Regions from separate parts of the Homo sapiens genome. Here region 1 is linked to region 2. Evidence: promoter capture Hi-C in 16 types of primary human blood cells and fetal thymus (Javierre and others, 2016). All regions are on one chromosome and are shown on one strand. Each heading gives the region's core, a stretch centred on a gene start or on the middle of the fragment in contact. The rest is flanking DNA. Distances are from core to core; before and after follow the strand shown.

Region 1 (3,825 bases), core at 851-3,350, 1.1 Mb before region 2:
ACATTTTGGAAGAGAAACATCTTAGGTATGGTATTGGTCACCTCTCTCAAGTGAAAGTTTTCATTCCTTTTGCTTCTTTTCCCATTTTGGGGCCGGGCTGGGGGGCGCGGTCCAGCCTCTCCAACATATGTCTTTACACTCTCAGGACGTTCCTCAGATCCCAAATACATAGCAGCAGGTAGTGTAATCAGTTATGTCCTTAGAATGGTGACAATTTAAAATTTCTGCACCTCTTTTGTTCCAGAAAATTCATGCCTTAAAAGACCAACGGCAAACTCTTCAAAATGCCTTCAGGAAATAAAGGTGACATTTGTTTCTATAGCGTACCTTGAAAAAGCATCCAGTTCAAACACTGTTCCAAAGCACTAGCTATGTCTGATTTCATATTTTACATTTGGACTTTATTTTCCCCCTAAAAAAGGCAGACATCAGAATATTATGTTTGCCAACTCATGAAACAATTGTTACTATTCTGTATTCTTTCTATGAGGATAGTATTATGAGGCTGTGCTCATAATAAAACCTTCATCCTAAATCTCTGTGCACCTTATGAATTTCACTGCATCTTTGCTTTTTTTTCCCCCCCAAAGAAGTCATTCAGGTTCCTTTAATAATACCAGTAAATAGCTCCAGCCTTCCACAGCTGCAGAGGTTTACTGTCCTGAGAGATTTTTCAGTGTTACAATTCATGCTTCCAATCAAAACAGTGACAGAGTTGACAGGATTTAGTGAGAAGAAGGACTTGATTAGGAACCAGGACACTACTGAGCAAATATTAAACAACTACAGGGAATTTCTAATATGCAGTGTTCTCTCTGTTCACAACAAAAACAAGCCAGAAACAATTTCCTGTGCTGCAGCTAAGTGAAATGGAAGTTTGTTTTTAAGGTTCCTTGTAGTGTGTTGTGTACATTTCAGCAAAGCCGATTTCACCTATGAGAGGCACTGGCTCCTTAAATAACTCCATTCTTCTCATTTCAAATAGAAACCAGCTGCACTTCTAAACTGTAACAAGAACACCTATCCAGGAGGTCAAAGCTGGAAGACACCTCACTGTGAAACGCTTCAAGCTTCTTTATCTGGGTTACAAGTTTGGTCTGCAGTGAATTGTCAGTGACAACCTGTGGCCTGGAATTTAATTCCTTGATGCCTTCATAACATTATTATTTCTTCCTCTCTAGAGGATAAACAAGTACATAATATACTATGAATTGGAGGCTGAAACCGACATTGATTGTGGGGAGAGGAAAAGGTTCTGGGAACACAAATCTGGGGATTTTTCATTGAGAATAAGTAATTTTGAAAAACCAGGTTTTAGGCTTTTTTTTTTTTTTTTTTAATAGCTTAACTCCTTCTATGGGTTAATTTGAGAGGACTCCATCCCCCTACTCCCTGCCCCACAAATTTCCAAAAACAACAGCAAGAAAGATCCTGGCAGAAGTCAAAGGGTCAATGGATCCTAAATAGTTTTCAGGTTCAAGTATGCACCATCAACAATGAGAAAAGCCCAGCCGTGTTATAATGACTCACCCCTTGACAAGAGATTCCAAACCGTGAAATCGAACAACTGCATATTTAGCCCTACGAATTGCATGGCTTACAAGTCACAGAGGGGTAAATTTGAAATAGGGAAAGGCTGGGATACCTTATTAGCATAAAATCTCTCTCTCTCTTTCTCTCTCTCTCTCTCTCTCTCACACACACACACACACACACAAAAGGCAGGGAAGTGGAGGCAGAGGCTGCACTGTGATCCTGGTCAAATAGGTTGGTCCTCTGTGAAGTGCCCATAATTCCAGAAGAACCCAGGGCTGGCTATTTGGTCCGAGGGGCCACTCTCATGGCCTGTTTGAAATAGTTCTCCTAACAGCAAGATTCAAAAAAGAATATTCTTTTCTCTCTTTATTTTTCTTTCATTCCTTTGTTCATGTAGGATAAAATTTTTACCTTTCTCTACCCCATTTCATTTTCTTAGCATTTCAGGAGAGATGAACCAGTGCTTTTCTGGTACTGCTCATCAGCATGTTCTAGCCAGTCGGCAAAAAAGGCATCTGCATTTATGGAGTTAATTGACATCTTATTAATTTTGCTCAGATTCTTTCTTTTACCTCCCTCTCCCTCTCCCCTCCTTTCTGTGTGTGTGTGTGTGTGTGTGTTTTTTTTTAAGAGAGAGAAAGCTAATGAAAACCATGTTTATATGCTCAAAGGCACAGAGGAAATTCATTACTCTGAGGAATAGCACACTCCACAAGTGAAATGAAAGTAATCTTATTTATGACAGGAAGGGGCCCTAGCTAGACTGAACTCCACCACACTTCCACTGTTACATAGAAAAGGAGCTGCAGAGCTCCTGCACCAACTCCAAATGGCGGCCTCACTGACAACAAACACATTTGCACTCTGTGTTTGAAAACTGTTAGAAGCTCCAGAAAAACAGCCATCTAATAGAGACAAGGAAACAAAATCTGCTTAGAATAGGCCATTCTTCCTTTACACCTACAGTACTTTCCCAGGACTCCTTGTGACTAAATGTTACAAAGATATCTCATCAAATCATTAGCTGATGACATTTATCAAGTACTGGTAAATACAGCTATGTTAGTTTCATAGCCTTAATTCCCTTATTAGAAGAGTTTTTCACTGTAAATTCATGGGCCCTTTCCTGTGTAAATAAATAATGGAAGAACTTAAATAATTCCTTTCACTATAAATGTCACCTTGTACCCTTGCAGACAATTCTCCCTTTCCTTCTTGAAAATTCCTTCAACTGTGAGAATATTTCCTTTTTTATTACTTGGGATTTTGCCATGTGGCTTTTTTTCCTCATTCATTCAATTAGTCAACGAAAATCATTTAGCTGTTATGTTCTAGAGGTTGGTGGGGAGATAGTCTCTACAATTTCTGTCAAAACTACTCATGAGTACTCTTCAAAATCTTAATATTATGTGAAATGTTGGCAGTAATAAGGTAGTTTTATAACATTTATTATATGGCTTCTGAGAATAACTTTTGCTGGAACGTCCTCTGAGATCATTAGGCCCATCTCCTCATTTATAGATGAGAAATCAGGCTCAAGGGCAGATCCCAGACTGTATATCTCCTTATTAAAAAATAGTTTTTTAAATTCCAAGAAGCTTCACATGTTTACCACTGAAGGAAAGGTATTATTGCTTGGATTCCGTGCAGGGGAGGGATTTTATAGTCCTCCCATCTTATGAAAAGGCTTCAGTATAAAATAAAAAGGGTCAACTAAAAAATATCTGGTATTTTGAAGTCCCATACAGAGATGCTATATGAGAGAGCAACTTGGAATTAAATTAACTAATTTGAGTTAACTCATCTTTATTAAGCCTGAGGTGCTGAGCATGTGTTGGGTCCCGGAGAAAAACAGACATACACCCTTTGCCATGTGCAGGGGATGCAGGGAGGTAAATGGGTGGACCTGTTTACATTATGGTATGGTAGGCGCTATGATGTGGAAGTGCAGAGTGCTATGAGACAGAGGAGGCTTCCTCCAGGGTGAAAGGAGTTGGTATGGAGATGGAGTGGCAGTGATTGTTCCAGGCAAAAGAAACAACTTGTATAAAAGCCTGGAAAAGAAAGTTTCAGAGTTTTTGTGAAAACAGTGTTAGTTACGCACTGAAGGGGAGGTTAGAAAGGGATTATAGTCAGAGTCTCTGATTTTCACTGGCCACACCTAAAATCCATGTGTTCCTTACTTGCCTTGTCCAAGTTGACATTTTTAAGTGTGGTATGTAACATTTATTTGTACAGTTATTCTTCCCTGTCATCCAAGACACTATTCTTAGTTTTCCTTTGCAATAC
Region 2 (3,799 bases), core at 424-2,923:
CTCCTTAATTGTTGTCACAAGATGTTGGATTAGCACATTTCTGGAATAGCTGTCTGTTTACACTCCAGAGACCCACCGTCCACTAACCGCTTTCTAATTGAATTCTAATCACATTCAAATAGCTCAATAACCAGCCTCAGCTGCAATTCATAAAACTTTAATTGCCATCCATAAATCCTGGGCTCCCCAGAGCCGGGCATCCCTACAACCCAATTACACTTCTCTAGCAGGCAAGAGAGACTGTCACAGAGATGGAGAGGGGAAGACAGAGGATGGAAAGATAGAGCCGTGCCTCTAGCTAGTGCTCTCCTGGATTTGGGCACCTTGTTCTCTCAGGTGGAGGGAGTCCTGTCTCTAAGTTTCTTAGCACCATCATGAACTCAGGATTGAAGTTAGCTGCTCTGGAAAAAGGATCAGACTTCTAACTATTGCCCAACCACATGGCCCCAGCCCGCTTTTCTGCAGGGGGAAATGAAGAGAGAAAATGGCCACCTCTGCTGCCTTGCCTTCTCCGAAGATAAATAGTCCCAATAGTTTGGCAGCCACCCTCTCTCGGGCAGTAAGGGGTGTGCAAGACTTCCATGGACCAGAGAGAGTTCCCTTACAAAGCCACTTCTGCCAATCAGAGGCAAGATTCCCTGGATGGCTGAATCCTCTTCATCCTTTTTAGGTTCTTAAGATGCAGAGGAAAGAGTGCTTCCTGGTTAGCCTTGCTAAGCTGCCCATGATTGGTAAAAATGAGGGACAGGAAATCCTCAGACCCAGAGCGAAGGTCTATCTAATCCCTGCTGCGTCTTTAGGAGGGCTTGGTGTTTGAGGTCCTCCCTCCAAAATCTTCAGGATGGAGTTTGTAGGATTGCCCTGGAATGCCATGGTGTTACTACTTGGAGAAAGAAAAGGGTGACTCTTCAACATCTCTCTCTCTCTGCGGAAGTGGGAGGTGCCGATCAGAAAGGGAAACAAGGAAGGGTCGTTGGTCTGAGTGGCCCCAGGAGGGCCCCAAGTACAAAGACACTTCAGACCTTGTCGAACATCAGCATGAAAAGCTTGACGGTTTCTTAGCTGGGAGGCCTCACAGTTCTGCGCCGGACAGTCCTGAACTAACCACCTGAATGACCTCTGCCAAGTCCAAAAGCTGTGGACAGGGGTAGGTGTAACCGTGGCCAGAGCTGCGCTCAGGGACTGGACGACTGCCAGTCCGTCGCCCGCACAATCCTGCTCCAAACCGCAGGCCTCACACTTCACCGCGCCGCAGCCACCCCTACCACAGAGGAGCTGGAAACACTGAGCATTCCTATTAAATAAGCCTCCAAGTCCCCACCTGGTACGCTTTGCGGTGGGGCGTGGGGAAGAGTTGGGCTGCGGCCAGGGTAGCGAGAGGGGGTGGGATGGAGGATGCAGCGCTGTGATTTCTCAGTAAAGCGTGGAGAAAGAGGGGGAGGAGGCCGGCCTCCCCGGGAAATTAACAAAACCTACACTTTGCAAAGTCTCCCCCATCCCCCTCCCCCGAGTTCTTCCCCGCCGCGCGCCCGCCCCTCCTCGCGGCTTCTGTTGTGACTCGGGCAGCCTATCCCGAGGGTGCGGAGCTGCCGAGGAGCCTGAGCCGAGCGGTACTCCGCAGCATCACGTGCCAGGGTGGGGGGCTATAAAATACCCGAGCCGGGGCGCCGGGCGGGGGACGTGAGGACCAGCCCTCTCCGGGGACCCCTTTGTTCCCAGCCCAGACGCCAACACCTCTGCGTCCCCAAGGGCTTGACTGCCCGTGTCTGCGCGGCTCCCAGGGCAGAGCTTAGAACACTAGAGGAGAGGGGTCGCCGCGAACTGCCGGGGCTTCCAGCCACCCACCCCTCTCGACATGTCGCGCTCCTTCTATGTCGACTCGCTCATCATCAAGGACACCTCACGGCCTGCGCCCTCGCTGCCTGAACCGCACCCCGGGCCGGATTTCTTCATCCCGCTTGGCATGCCGCCCCCATTGGTGATGTCCGTGTCCGGCCCCGGCTGCCCGTCCCGCAAGAGCGGCGCGTTCTGCGTGTGCCCTCTCTGCGTCACTTCGCACCTGCACTCCTCTCGGGGGTCTGTGGGCGCCGGCAGCGGGGGCGCAGGGGCCGGGGTTACCGGGGCCGGAGGCAGTGGGGTGGCAGGGGCCGCAGGGGCACTGCCTCTGCTTAAGGGCCAGTTCTCTTCGGCTCCTGGGGACGCGCAGTTTTGCCCGCGGGTGAACCATGCGCATCATCACCACCACCCGCCGCAGCACCACCATCACCATCATCAGCCCCAGCAGCCTGGCTCGGCCGCGGCGGCGGCAGCAGCAGCAGCGGCGGCGGCGGCCGCGGCGGCCTTGGGGCACCCGCAGCACCACGCACCTGTCTGCACCGCCACCACCTACAACGTGGCGGACCCGCGGAGATTCCACTGCCTCACCATGGGTAGGGCGGGGTCTTGGGGCACCTGCGCTCCGCGCCTTTCGCGCTCCTGGAGCAAACTTTCCACCTCCAGTGGAGGAAGTGGGAGCCCGGGGACAGGGTGAAGAGAGAGGACGGGCTTTTAGTGTAACCGTAGAGTCAGCCACAGAAGTTCCACGAAAGTGGAAGTTAGTTTGCCAGCTTCTCCACTCAGCCTGGTGCGTTTTACTCCTAGTAGTAGGTGCTCGAGTATTGCCTTATTAATACTGGGGCCTTAGGGACCTCGAACGTCACGGCGGATAAACCAGAGGTTAACTGCTTGGGATTTGGGGTGGGTGTGTTTGAACCTGTGTGGCATCCCCGCGTCGGGGCGGCTAAAGCGTCTTGACGTTTTTGGCTAAGCCTGCGCGCTTCTCCGCTTGGCTCAAAGGGAGGCGATCAGATAGTGCAAGCCCCCATCCCTCTTTAATCCTGTGACTTCGCATCCTGCGCATCGAAGACCTTTATTTGCTTTGCACGTCTCTTTTCTTCCCCGCTAAGCAACCACGTGCCTTGAAATGGGAAAGGGATACAGATGTTCGGCTGGGCTTCCCCGGGTGGGTCCCTGAAATGCGTCCTGGTTAGCACATGGGGTGGGAGCACCTTGCCCGAGCCTTACCTCTCTACCCTCTCTTCGCCGGTCCGCAGGAGGCTCTGACGCCAGCCAGGTACCCAATGGCAAGAGGATGAGGACGGCGTTCACTAGCACGCAACTCCTGGAGCTGGAGAGAGAATTCTCTTCCAACATGTACCTGTCTCGACTCCGGAGGATTGAAATCGCCACTTACCTGAACCTGTCGGAGAAGCAGGTGAAAATCTGGTTTCAGAACCGCCGAGTGAAGCACAAGAAGGAGGGGAAGGGCACGCAGAGGAACAGTCACGCGGGCTGCAAGTGCGTCGGGAGCCAGGTGCACTACGCGCGCTCCGAGGATGAGGACTCCCTGTCGCCGGCCTCAGCCAACGATGACAAGGAGATTTCCCCCTTATGAGGGAGGGCCTCCTCCCTCACATCCCCCGCTCCTGGCAGACCAGGCAACGCCAAGGCGTGGGGCACCCAGGGGCCAGAATCCTTGCTCATTGCAGTGGTCCCATCTGGAGAAGAAACGAACCTGGAAGTTCTGGAATGGACAAGCCGGGACCTGACCCTTCGCGTCTCCTTCTTGACCTGTTTATCTAGGACTCCAACTTGAAGTTACAGATTTTTTTAAAAAATGTAAATAACCTATAATTCAACTCATTCTTGTCGTATAACAGAGGAAAAACAGGGTTGGTTTAAGTTTAACACTGTATGGGGTTTTTGAAAGCACATGTCAGTTCCCCATCCCTACTCTCTTTCAGAACTCGATAAGAACACA

What was found. Contacts are between HindIII fragments. The CHiCAGO score rates a contact against its expected background, and 5 or more counts as called.
Region 1: a contact is called between a fragment that was not itself captured here and the fragment with the promoter of GSX2 in region 2, in 1 of 17 cell types (fetal thymus). The highest score is 7.0, in fetal thymus.

Annotation. Positions count from the first base shown.
Region 1 is chr4:53,010,682-53,014,506 of GRCh38, forward strand. All of the region lies in intron 5 of SCFD2 (sec1 family domain containing 2), which reads right to left. Among named protein-coding and RNA genes, the nearest start is that of SCFD2-AS1, 85 kb to the left of the region's middle. The HindIII fragment of the contact is 2,064 bases long and covers 1,069-3,132 here.
Region 2 is chr4:54,098,490-54,102,288 of GRCh38, forward strand. It overlaps GSX2 (GS homeobox 2), which reads left to right and starts at 1,674. Exons shown (of 2, transcript NM_133267.3): 1 at 1,674-2,429; 2 at 3,093-3,799. The coding sequence starts at 1,856. The coding sequence ends at 3,433. RefSeq lists enhancers at 1,518-2,308, 2,309-3,100, 3,101-3,799. The HindIII fragment of the contact is 4,571 bases long and covers 1,045-3,799 here.